Regions from separate parts of the Homo sapiens genome. Here region 1 is linked to region 2. The links are contacts of gene promoters, found by promoter capture Hi-C in blood cells and fetal thymus (Javierre and others, 2016). All regions are on one chromosome and are shown on one strand. The core of a region is centred on a gene start or on the middle of the fragment in contact, and the rest is flanking DNA. Distances in the headings are between cores, read along the strand shown.

Evidence for each region. Contacts are between HindIII fragments. The CHiCAGO score rates a contact against its expected background, and 5 or more counts as called.
Region 1: a fragment that was not itself captured here is called in contact with the fragment with the promoter of THAP9 in region 2 in 1 of 17 cell types (neutrophils); the score reaches 5.2 in neutrophils.

What each region holds. Positions count from the first base shown.
Region 1 is chr4:75,673,368-75,679,717 of GRCh38, reverse strand. It overlaps G3BP2 (G3BP stress granule assembly factor 2), which reads left to right and starts at 6,307. Exons shown (of 12, transcript NM_203505.3): 1 at 6,307-6,350. RefSeq lists enhancers at 3,517-4,493, 4,494-5,471, 6,208-6,350. The HindIII fragment of the contact is 4,310 bases long and covers 2,549-6,350 here.
Region 2 is chr4:82,895,054-82,901,984 of GRCh38, reverse strand. THAP9 (THAP domain containing 9) reads right to left here and starts at 1,250. Exons shown (of 5, transcript NM_024672.6): 1 at 1,103-1,250. The coding sequence starts at 1,182. It overlaps THAP9-AS1 (THAP9 antisense RNA 1), which reads left to right and starts at 1,069. Exons shown (of 4, transcript NR_034077.1): 1 at 1,069-1,651; 2 at 1,762-1,908; 3 at 6,211-6,293. It overlaps SNORD143 (small nucleolar RNA, C/D box 143), which reads left to right and starts at 6,057; the gene lies at 6,057-6,132. SNORD144 (small nucleolar RNA, C/D box 144) reads left to right here and starts at 3,760; the gene lies at 3,760-3,845. It also overlaps a transcript of SEC31A not described here. RefSeq lists a silencer at 891-1,240 and enhancers at 766-1,285, 1,551-1,670, 1,286-1,805. The HindIII fragment of the contact is 4,998 bases long and covers 1-4,454 here.

The sequences.
Region 1 (6,350 bases), core at 3,454-5,953, 7.2 Mb after region 2:
TTATGAGACTATTGCCTCTAAATTCTGAAGAAGTGACTTTCTTAGAACTTGCAACCTTTGTTCTCTCAAACTCAGGTAGCATGTAGAATCTCACCTACTTATAGACTTTCATAGATATGATCAAAACAAGTTACATACCTAAAATCTACCACCTATAGCAGTCATTCATATTGTGACATTTTGTACTTCATCACACAGATTGGCAGGCCATTTCATGCACTTTTCTGGATGTGAGACATATTTTACACACTCACAATGATTGGAGAGGAAAACACTCCTTTATACCCTAACCTGTCCCAGCCTCACAAACAGATAATGGCTGGAAAGATTGCAGGGAGAAATTAACATTTGATTCTTTCTTTAGGTCATAATAGGCTTTCTCCTCTCTTGCTCTAAAATGAATGGATTCATCCTACTCATGGGAGTAGGTTTCTCTGTGCATTAAAAAGCTTTGTAAAGGATCCAGTTGCACCAAGAGAGAGCCCTGGGATTCTCAAGTAACATGTTTTCAATCAGTAAGTCTTGTTCAAAGTCTATAAAAGTTCATCATTTAGCAGTAGGACATGGTGTAGTGGCATGAGTCAGAGGGACTCTGGGCTCTCTTTCTAAATTGGCCATTTTTAGCCTTGTGCAGCTTGCCTGCTTTGTGAATTGCTGTGAAATTGAAATGAGATAATGTGTTTGAAAGTGTTTTGAAAACTGTAAAATGCTATACAAATGTAAGTTGTTACTTCAGAACAAAGCAGTGGGCAGTCTGCGAAAAAGGAATCAGTTGAAAGCAATTGGTGCATATACTTTTTCAAGAACCAAACATTAAGTGCCGATGTTTATTGAGCACTTACCATGTGCCAGACACTGTTAAAATGTTTTACATGTATTGTCTAAACCTTACTGTACCCTAATAAGGTAGATATTATTATTGTCCCCATTTTACAGATGAGAAACACTGAGGCACATAAAAGTGAAACATCCTGCCTATAGTGATATACCTAGTAAGTGATGAGATAAAGCTGGGATTCAAATCCAGGCAGTGTGGTTCTGGAGCCCAGATTCTTTTTTATTTTTTTTGGAAATGGGGTCTTGCTATATTGCCCAGGCTGAACTCAAACTCCTGGGTTCAAGTGATCCTCCTGCTTCAGCTTCCCAAGTAGTGGGGACAACAAGCATACCCCATTGTGCCCAGCCAGACTCTTTAAATACTATGCTGTTGACAGCATTATCATTTGTTTTAGTCTATTTGGGCTGCTATAACAAAATACCTTTAGGTCAGGTGTGGCTCATGCCCGTAATCTCAACACTTTGGGAGCCTGAGGCAAGAGGATGGCCTGAGGCCAGGCAATCAAGACCAGATTGGGCAACATAATGAGACCCTGTGTACACACACACACACACACACACACACACACACACACACACACACAAGCTAGGCACGGTAGTGCACACCTGTGGTCCCAGCTACTCAGGAGGCTGAGAAGTCGAGGCTGCAATGAGCTATGATCGCACCATTGCACTCCAGCCAGGTGACAGACAAAGCAAGAACCTGTCTCAAACAACAACAACAACAACAACAACAAAACCACCCTTCAACTGGGTAACTTATAAACAACAGAAACTTATTGCTTATAGTTCTAAAGGCTGAGTAGTTCAAGATCAAAGGGCCAACCCTAGTGAGGGCTTGCTCTGCTTCAAAGATGGTGCCTTCTTGCTGTGTTCTCACATGGTGAAAGGGGCAAAAGCACAAAAGAGACTAATGAACTCCCTCAATCCCCTTTTATGAGCACACGAATTCCATTCATGAAGGTGAGGCCCTCATGACCTAGTTGCCGCCTGAAGGTCCCACCCACCTTTTAATACTTTTGCATTGGAGATTAAGTTTCAACATGAATTTTGGAGGGGCACATACATTCAATCCACAGCATCATCCTTCCTAACTGAATTAGTAGTGGGGCCAAGACATTTGTTTTGCAAGCCTTAAAAGTTTAAAAACATGGTGAGTAAAGACACTTTCCAAGAAAAATGCGTTTCCCTTAAGGACTTGGATTTTACTCCCTTCCAATGCTTGGTCTTCATAAACCTTATTTATGTGGGGTGTGTGACCCCTAAACATGCATGTAGTCATCTCTTTTTTTTTTTATTTTTTATTTTTTGAGACAGAGTCTCGCTCTGTTGCCCAGGCTGGAGTGAAGTGGTGCGATCTCGGGTTACCACAACCTCCGCCTCCTGGGTTCAAGTGATTCTCCTGCCTCAGCCTCCCCAGTAGCTGGGACTACAGGTGCGCACCACCATGCCTGGCTAATTTTTGTATTTTTAGTAGAGACGGGGTTTCACTATGTTGGCCAGGCTGGTCTCGAACTCCTGACCTCGTGATCCACCCACCTGGGCCTCCCAAAGTGTTGGGGTTACAGGCGTGAACCACTGCGCCCAGCCGCATGTAGTCATCTCGTATACACCTACTTCATCAGCAAAAGTGGTGATAATGGACTTGGTTGATCTTTTAGTATTCAGTAAAGTTGAGAATGGTCAAATGAAAGGGTGTAGAGGAAAAGCTTTATAAATTCAAATGTCTTATCTTATTCAAATACTTATCTAAGTATTTTATGCTGAAGTTTATAATAAAAATCAGGAATCAGGTAATATAATTCTAGTAATTTTACTTTTAAAAATTTACCTGCTAATGGTGATTGGGTCTGATTCATTTACTTTTATTTTTCACAGTGTTTTGATAAAGGTTCACATTAAAGGCCTTGGGGTGGTAATGTGATGAGAATGTCAAAGGAAGAGCTGGCTGGGGTGGTGTGAGAAAACCAGTGGTAAGAAAAGAAATGGAAGTAATAGGTAAGGACTAGATCAGGTAGGCCTTGTAGGCCATGGTAAGGACCTGAGATTTTGTGTTGCCTTTTAAAGGTTTTGGGACCATCTCAATTATAACTATGAAAGATCTGGCTGCTGTGAGGGGAACAGACTGTAGTGGAATAAGAGTGGAAGCATTGAGGCCAAGTAGAAAGCTATTGCAATAGGCAATGGTGGCCTGGACTACTATAGCAGCAGTAACAGTGATGCAAAGTATTTAATCCAGAATAAATGTTGAAGGTAGAGGGAACAGAAATGTATTGACAATTCGGCGAAGTGGGTGGATCACTTGAGGTCAGGAGTTCGAGATCAACCTGGCCAACATGGTGAAACCTCGTCTCTACTAAAAATAGAAAAATTAGATGGGCGTGGTGGCACATGCCTGTAGTCCTAGCCACTTGGGAGGCCAAGGCAGGAGAATGGCTTGAACCTGGGAGGTGGAGGTTGCAGTCAGCCCAGATCATGCCATTGCACTCCAGCCTGGATGACAGAGCGAGACTCCATCTCAAAAAAAAAAAAAAAAAAAAAAAATTATTGGCAATTGGCTGTCAATAAATTGGTGTGAGAAAAAGAGGTTTTTGGCCTGAGCCACCGAATGAATACCGTTCACACTGGTCTCCCTGCCTAGTCTATAGGAGGTGGACATTGCTTCATGGAGGCTATGTTTGAGAGGCAGGGAGATTAGTTAGGAGGCCACTGCAGTCTTCCTGGGAAGATGAAGGGGCCTGAACCTGGGCAGGGGCTATTTGTGTAGAGATATGTTTATGAGGTAAAAATCGCCAGTTAGAATAGGTTAGAGATATTTACTTAACATTGAAGATCGCTGAATCTTTTTTCCCATTAACTCCACTTATTGGTGTCTACTCAAGAGCAGGGTTACCTGAGGGCTGTTTCTGTGTAGCTCTAGAGCTAAACTAAAAATGTTTCTTAAATTTTTAAAGGATGCGAGAGAGAGAGGAATATGCAACAGAAACCATACGTGGCGCTCAAAACCAAAAATATTTACTATCTAATCCTTCCCTTATCAAACCGTTTGCCCACCTCTGCCCTAGATCAGTGGTGTTTGTTTTTTTTGAGACGGAGTTTTCACTGTTGTCACCCAGGCTGGAGTGCAATAGCGCGATCTCAGCTCACCGCAACCTCCGCCTCCCAGGTTCAAGCGATTCTCCTGCCTCAGCCTCCCGAGTAGCTGGGATTACAGGCATGCGCCACCACGCCCGGCTAATTTTGTATTTTTAGTAGAGACGAGGTTTCTCCATGTTGGTCAGGCTGGTCTCAAACTCCTGACCTCAGGTGATCCGCCCCCCTCGGCCTTCCAAAGTGCTGGGATTACAGTCGTGAGCTGCCGCGCCCGGCCTATATCAGTGGTTTTTAAAGTGTGGCTCCTAGAGCAGCAGTAGCACCATCAGCTGAGAACTTGTTAGAAGTGCAAATTCTCGGGCCTCTGTTGAATCAGAAACTTAGGGAGTGGGGCCCAACTATCTGTTTTAACAAGCCCTACAGGTGATTTCGGTGCACATTAAGGTCTGAGAACCACTGCTCTAGAGAAAGTTCTGCACCTCTGCAGGATACATGGTGAAGAATATTTATAATAGCATTGCACGGAAGAGCTCCAAACCGGAAACACTTGAAGGTTAGTCAGCAGTAGGGCAGATAAGTGAATTGCGGCAATTAGTACAATGGGAGTATTCTATAGTTTGCCTGAGGGTATGGACTGTGGAGGCAGATTGCCTGTGTTTGAATCCCAGCTCCAGTGAATAGTAGCAGTGTAGTCCTGGGTAAGTTACTTGACCTCTCCAAGCCTGTTTTCTCATCTATAAAATGGGCATAAAAATAGCAACTACTGGCCGGGTGCGGTGGCTCACGCCTGTAATCCCAACACTTTAGGAGGCCAAGGCGGGCGGATCACGAGGTCAGGTGTGTTCGAGACCAGCCTGGCCAACATAGTGAAACCTCGTCTCTACTAAAAATATAAAAATTAGTTGGGTGTGGTGGCATGCGCCTGTAGTCCCAGCTACTAGGGAGCCTGAGGCAGGAGAACCGCTTGAACCCGGGAGGCGGAGGTTGCAGTGAGCCAAGACCGTGCCATTGCACTCCAGCCTGGGCGACACAGAGAGACTCCATCTTAAAAAAAAAAAAAAAAAAAAAATATATATATATATATATATATATGTACATACATATAGCAACTAGCTCATAGGGTTACTGTGAGGCTCAGAAGGCTGTATAATTACAAGAATGCCTGGTATATAAGCCCAGTATATTAAAGGACAGCCGGCATGTAATGTATTTTGATGCTTTAAGGAAAAACATCAGGTTGATTTCATTAAAGTGATGGTCTGCCCAAATATTTTGCATATAACAGTATCTTTAAGCAGTCTAAAGGTAAAGATATTGTAGACTTTGGAGGCCCTAATGTTGGCATTGCCTCTGCCAATATTTAAGGTATTTGACGTATTGTCTTAACATGCCAAATACCTTAAAATTGCCCTTACAGGATTGCGAAGAAAACTGATGAGATGTACATGCTTGCGTCCACCATGTTTAGTTCGTAAGCATTCATTAATGTATTTTTTCCTTTCCGTTTCTTTGAACACTTCCTCAGTCCTTCATTCCAAAATTCCTGTGCTATCTCGGTATTCTCTGAAAACACTGCCAGACCTAAGATGCAAAGTGGCTTCCTTGACTACAAGATTTGGCTTGGCTTTGTCCATGAAACAAGGTCACCAGTGTCTCACCCTGGGGGCAAGTCTGGGCTTAGAGCTAGAACAGGACTGTAATCCTTGTATTTCAGGCCTTCTTTTAGCTTTAGTATGTAAAATGCTTTAGTATCTACTGATATTTAGCCATGCCTAAATTCGTAACAAGGACACAAAGAAATAGTCTTTTCCCCCTCTGTAAAGCCCACGTCATGTTCTTCCTTTACTGCAGGGCCTCTTAATGGGGCTTAAAACCTAGGATGGGTTAAGTAAACAATGTAGGTGAGTTTAGTGTGCAAACAGCTGAAATCACCGGCTGCATTTTAAGCTCGTCTACAGCAGCAACCTGCAGACACCTATTCAGAGAGATTACTAAATTCCCTCCTTCCCATTAATAAAAAGGACCAGAATATCAGTCTACAAAAGACACTGCGTTGCTGCGAACCAGCTCTCGCTTGCGCGATCAGGAAGAAGGGCGGCAAGGCTGGAGCCTCGGGACCGGAGAAAGGCAGCCTGCTTGTGACGTCAAATCAGCGGACTCTTATCTTGGCTTTAGGCCGGTTCCGGTTCCCCGGCTTTCCGGGCGCGAGCGTGTGCGAGCGCGGCAGCGTACTGCGCGTGCTCCGCAGAGGGACACGGGAAGGTTGGGTCCGGCTCTGGAGGAGATGCGTGATTGGCTGACGCTGTGCTCGGGGGTTCCCTGGCCCTTTCGGCAGGGGTAAAACAATAAGAGGGGGCGGTGGCAAAGGGGGCGGGACGTCCGTGGTCCTTGTCGCACGTCGCAGCGCCTGGCGCCCGGGA
Region 2 (6,931 bases), core at 1-2,500:
AAAGTCTTACGTTTTAGTTTTACAAAATTCTACAAGGCAGGTTTTTATTCCTCTTACAGAAGAAGAAACCAAGACCCAGAGCCAAGTACAGACATCAGTAAATACTCAATTAAAATTGGAATTCATGTCTCCCTAGTTTAAAACTACCTCTATCACAAGAAAAATCCCAAATCAATTATGGTCTCACATACACAATGAGTTGGTTCACACTGCTAACAATTTAGGTGGAGGAATCAGCCCTATTTAAAAAATAGAAAACAAAAAAAAAAAAAAATCAATGAATTTTATACATAGCCTACCATACATACTCTAAACTCCTTAACCTGGCATTTACATTTTTAAAATGGTTTCTCAGGTACTTTTCCACTCCTCTATATTTGCACTTTCTATCCTTTACATTTTCCCATGCCATTCCTAACTACCCTCTTCCTACCCCCCCTTTCCAACCATAAAGTTCTTTTTGATCTTTCCATAAATCTGCTCCTTTTGTCTGTGAGGATCTATTTTACCCACTTTTCTACTTGCTAGTGTACCCTGAATACTGAATGACCTATACCAGTCTGAACCATGGATATGAGTTCAGATAAGACTGATCTGAAATTCTTCCCCACTGTCGAGCCAAATGAAACTTCCCTGCCATGATCAAATCCAGCCAGAATCGGACCGGCCTTGCACAGCTCGGCTAACAGCACTTAAGAACTTGCAATGTCAGGCAGTACAGGAGAAAACTGATCTGTACTCGTGCTCAGGAAGACGCCACACACACACTTCAACCGTTGTCCTAAACTGCCTTCCCTTTCGGCCTCCTCACTTCAAATAATAAGACCATCCAATTAATGGAGGACTCCTTTCGCGTAACTCTCCTTAAAGCGGTAGGCGGTGCGAGAACCGGCTATTCAGAGGTAAACACTGGGCGGGAAGAGAGAGAATCTCAATTCTCACAGTGCCCCAATTCCGCTCCCACGCCCCGACGCTGCGCACGTCACGTCGCGTCACACACGCGGCGCGACCCACAGTGCGGCCCGGCCCCGCCCCACGCCACGCCACGGCCCGCCGGGCCCCGCAGGGAGTTCGAAGGCTTCGAGGCTGCTCCCATACGCACTGGTGGAAGGAGAGGCCGCGCTCCCGGCTGAGCACGGTGTCACGGGTGCTGCAGCCCACTGCGGAGCAACTTCGGGTCATCTTCTTGTTACGTGGGGCCCCACCTTCGGGGTTCCCGCGACAGCATGAATCACGACCACTTTAGCTCCGCCCGTTGACTCTGCGGCTACGACCTTTATTTGTCACGAAAGGCGGGCTTTAGAGGCGCGGGACTTCCACACTTCCTCTCCGAAGGCCCTGCGCCGGTGCCGTAGCCAATGACAGGCCACGTTGTGTCCCAGCAGCCAATCGGAAGGGCCTGAGCCTGAAGACGTGCATTTGACCGCTCCTCCCTCCGCGTTGGAGGCGGAATAGTGGGTTTTGCTGCAACCGGTTTATTTTCCTTCTGTTTTCACCCATTCTGGCACAATCTGGCGCCATCGTCCTTCTTGTGAGGCCAAGCCTGAAAATGCGAAGCAGAGAGGCAGGACCAAAATTGAGGCGAATCCAGGAACCTGCCAATGGGTCTCCGGGTGCGGTCTCTGAAACTGGAGGATATCGGGAGGAAAGGGTATGGAAGAGGGATAAAACACGGTGCCTTAGGTGTGTTGAAGACAGAGTCGGGCCAAAAATATATGATTTACTGAGATGCGTGTCGTGTTCTTGCGCTTTATCTTGTAGCTCTCCGATGCGGAGATAATGGGGAAGCTCTTGGCATGGTTGGCTGTAGGTATGTGATACCGGAGGAGCAGGAGTCAAATAGGATACGCCGACTTTTAATTCAAGGAACCCTTTTCTGAAACACTTTGCCACAATGAAGGAAATAAGGTAAGGTTCTTGGGGCTCCTCAGTAGTAATAGGGGCAGGGGACAAGGGGCAATTAAGTGGTTTTGGTTGGGAATGAGGCATTATGAATAGCTTTCAGGAGATAGAGCTTAGAACAATGTCTTAGTTATAAGCTCTTATGTTTGAGGAAGAGATTTCAATTTGCTTAGAGAAGGAAACGGGCCAGTGGGTTTTTGTCTCTGAGAAGGAGATCCTTAGCATACAGAAAACAGAGAAGGGTTTGCAACTTTTCCGTTTCTTTGTATAGCACACAAAAATAATTCCAAATATCCAGGCCTAACAAGATTGCTTCTTTTTCCCCTTTGTGTTTACTTTGTCCAGATTACAGCCGAAGATACATATTAAGGTATTACTTATTCACACCAGTTTTCCATTATAATATGCTTGTATCTTCTCTGAATGGAATTAATAGCTTTTGGTTATGGTTCCTTAAAAGTCACATGGCCTAAGGATAGATGGTCAAGGAACTTTGGAAAAATTGGTCCCTGGGGGATGTGCAGGGCAAATACTTTTTGGCTGTAAGGTGTGTGCAGAGAGTAAGAACTGGATTTAAATACTGTAAGTTGGTTGGGCTGTTAGAGCCTTTTCCTGCTCAACCAATTAAGACCCGAGTGAGGCTGAATAAAAATAACATTGTTTTTAGCTATCTTTAAGGAAAAAATTAGTTGCCTTATATTTTTGTAACAGTTTTACTCAGATATAATTCTCATACCACACAACTAATTGGTTTAAAGTGTACAATTCAGTGGGTTTTAGTATATGCACAGAATTGTGGAACAGTCACAATCAATATTAGAACATTTTCATCACTCCAGAAAGAAACCTCATTCTTACTAGCAGCACCTCCAAATATTCCCCCACCCCGCTCAGCAAACACTAATTTAGTTTCCGTGTGCCTCTGCCTGCTCTGTACACTTCATGTAAGTGGAATTATGAACTAATATATGGTCTTTGTGACTGGCTTCTTTCACTTGGAATGTTTTCAGAGTTCATCCATCTTATAGCACGTATCAGTACTTTATTTTTTATTGCTGAATCGTACTCCATTTTATGGATGTAGCAGATTTTGTTTATCCGTTCAACAGTTGGTGGACATTTGGGTTTTCCAATTTTTTTTTTTACTATTATGAACATTTGTGTACAAGTTTTTGTGTGGACAAATGTTTTCATTTTCCTGATTACACACCTAAGAGTGGAATTGGTGAGTCATAAGATAACTGTGTTTAGCTTCTTGAGGAAGTGCCAGATTATTTTCCCTAGTGGCTGCACCATTTTACATTCCCACCAGCAGTGGATGAGGCTGCCAGTTTCTCCACATTTTTGTGCATGTGAAGTGGCTGTCTCATCGTGGTGTTTGCCTTTTCTTAAGGACTCAAAAGTTTGCAGATACAGGCATTCACTTGCCATTTTCTTAAGGTAGAGTTGAAAGTACTGCTGCCAGTTCATCATCTGAAATGAGGGCTGTTTTCTTTCCTGTTTAATTGGATTGCAACTATTTGCCTTTCCTAAAGATGAAATAGTGTGCTTCCTACATTATTCTGACAACATTCCTTTAATTGTTAATTTCAGATGAATTTCTGAAAACTGCTTTTATCAGAACAGATTTACTTAAATGAAGGCAATAGCCGCAAGGGGTCACTGCTCTAGATATTTACTTCTGCATAGGAAATAAGTAATCCTTTATAGATGGAATTTTTTTTTCTTAGTTGTATTTTTGTATCTTTACATTTGTTTATAACTTATCTATACTTTTTTTGTTGTTGTGATTATTTTACTGTTGACATGGAAGTTCTCAATCTGATCATTTGGTTATATCATTGCTTCTTCTAGTAACTTCATATCCAGTGATTAAACCTTTTCACTGCTGTTCACATAATGAACCGTTGTGATTATTGAATACTTAAATGAGGATATGTAAGCTGTATTAAAGATAGTGTTATTTGCAAAGGCATTGACTATTGCACAAAAAATTTTAAAAGAAAATATCTCTTTTCAGGAATTGTACTCTCAGAGATGTTGAGAAAAGATACATGGGTCTTGGAAGATAATTACTCAAAATATGCAGGGAAGGTAGTATATCTTTCTATTTTAAATGTATTAAGTATTCCTGGAACTATAGCAGTGAGTTGGAAATGGAGGATTGTCCAAGTAAAAAACATTTATTAAGGCTTTAATGAAATCTACCTATTTTATGGTATATAATCTCATTAATTGTCCACTTGGAAAGAATAATAACAGATATTTATTTATTGGCCAGTTACTATGGGCCACAAATTATGCTGAGCTTTTTTTAATTTCATTTCATTTTATTTTATTTTTTGAGATGGGGTCTCACTCTGTCACCCAGGCTGGAGTGCAGTGGCGCAATCTCAGCTTATTGCAACCTCTGTCTTCCAGGCCCAAGCAATCTTCCCACCTCAGCTTCCTAAGTAGCTGGGACCACATGCATGTACCACTACACCTGGCTAATTTTTTTTTGTATATTTGGTAGAGACAGGGTTTTACCATGTTGCCCAGGCTGCTAAGCTTTTTATATACAGTATATAGAAAGAGTTGGTTTTCTTAAACAATATTTATTTCTCATAATAACTCTATGAAAGCAGGTATAGACTTCTTGCTTTCTAGGGTTGGTATCTTGCTTGTTGAGGACCTACCCTTTTGTGTTGCCGAATTTTTCATTGTTTGAGTTCTGTCTTTTGTTTCAGAAAGCCATGGAGTTTTGAAATTATTGTTATATCATTATTTGTTACATAATTATTTCTACTTCTAGAATCTCATGCTAACTTGGAAGTGTCTTCTCAGCATCAAGCCTGATATGGAGGGGCAGCTACACCCTAATACGCTCCAAAACTAGTTATGCTTTGTTTTATACGTAATGCTTCTGTTATTAGACAAGTGGTTTCCAAATATCAGAAGCAGTGCTAGGACTTAAAGGAAAAGGGGGAGTGTTTTTTCTTCTAATAGAACTTTTGAGCAGTGATGAAAGGAAAACAAGAAGACTCAAAAGATTATAAATCTCAGGCACGAATTAGTGTTCTGCCAATTAGGAACATTCTGATTGCTTGACAAGGTCTATATTTTGCTGATGAGGAGTAGAAGCCTGTGGGAGGTGGGGGTGGAAGCAGCAGAAGGAAAAGAGTAGCAAGTATTTAGTAAAATGTATTCATCATAGTGGATAAAAATCAAGCTTTGGGGAAAAAGGTCAAACTCCTTCAATGATGCTGTACATCTGTACCTTTACTCCATCCTATAGCAAATATTTGTATAACTGCACAGAAGAAATTGGACAATATTCCTTGAAAAATTCTTAGAAAGTTCAACTTTCCAAGTTAGTATCACCCCAAGGAAAATTATATGAGTAGGAATACCTAATTTCTAGCCATACTCTAGTTCCAATTAGCTTCTCTAAGTAGCTGGAACTGCAGGCGTGTGCCACCACACCTGGCTAATTTTTTGTATTTTTGGTAGAGAAGGGGTTTTGCCGTGTTGCCCAGGCTGCTAAGATTTTTATATATAGTGTATAGAAAGAGTTGGTTTTCTTGGCCAGGCATGGTGGCTCGCACCTGTAATCCCAGCACTTTGAAAGGCTAAGGCAGGTGAATCACCTGAGCTCAGGAGTTCAAGACCAGCCTGGCCAACATGGCGAAACTCCGTCTCTACTAAAAATACAAAAATTAGCCGGGCATGGTGGCACGCACCTGTAACCCCAGCTACTTGGGAGGCCAAGGCAGGAGAACCACTTGAACCCAGGAGGTGGAGGTTGCAGTGGGCCAAGATTGGCCACTGCACTCCAGCCTGGGTGACAGAGCAAGACTCTGTCTCAAAAAAGAAAGAGTTGGTTCTGTTAAACAATATTTATTTCTCATAATAACCCTATGAAAGCAGATACAGACTTCTGGCTTTTTAGGATTGGTATTTCACTTGTTGAACACCTACCCTTGTGTCAGATGTATAGCAGGTTAACAAAGTCAATACAGTGATACACTTGACATAATCTTTGTTCTGAGTTTTTTTCCCAATTATAGTAAAATTGGAGGTCTTAACTGTTCTACATTAGATAAATATATGCATTTGTTTTAAAGAGCTAAGCAATGAGAATCTTACAACTAGAGCTGAAGTTCAAGAAATAAATGTCCAATGATTAAATTTTTTCCACTGCTGTTCACATCATGATTTGTTGTGATTAATGTATGTGGATGAGGACATAATAGAAAAAGAAAATGATGAGACTTGTATATATTGTGTTTCTGCACAATGAGTTCCTTTGAATGTTTTTCGTTTTAGGAATAAAATTGAAGGGTGTTTTTCTTAGAGAACATCATTTGTCATATTTATTTGATCAAGAAGTTGAAGATTTATATAATAAGGTATGGGACTTACACATTTATTTTGATAAAAGAACACAGAAAAGGTCAGGTATGAGCAGAAAATTGACATTTATTTCAGCCTAATGTGGATACTGTACTCTGAATTAAAAATTTCTTTTCCTTACTCTTCCAGCTTTTAAAGATAAGTATTATTTCAAAATAGTATTTTTTTAATTAATAGATTCAATTCAGGAAAGGCATTGGAGGGGGTGGAGCTTTTAACTTTGACAGTCTCACTCTGTTGCCCAGGCTGGAGTGCAGCGGCGCAATCTCTGCTCACTGCAATCTCTGCCTCCTGGGTTCAAATAGTTATTGTGGCCCAGCTTCCCAAGTGGCTGGGATTAGAGGCGCATGCCACCACACCCAGCTAATTTTTTTTATTAAGTAGAGACCATGTTTTGCCATGTTGGCCAGACTGGTCTCAAACTTCCAGCCACCAACCTCAGCCTCCCAAAGTGCTGGGATTATAGTCATAAGCCACCACACCTGGCTGTTGGTTATCTTTTCTTAGAAATAATGATATAATCTTTTCAGCACCTGATATTCTTAAAGATCCAGGGTTTACAAATGACTGTTAGATATGCCAAGGATGACTAGCCTATAACTTAAGGATCTGTTCAGGAACAGTAGAAAAGAAG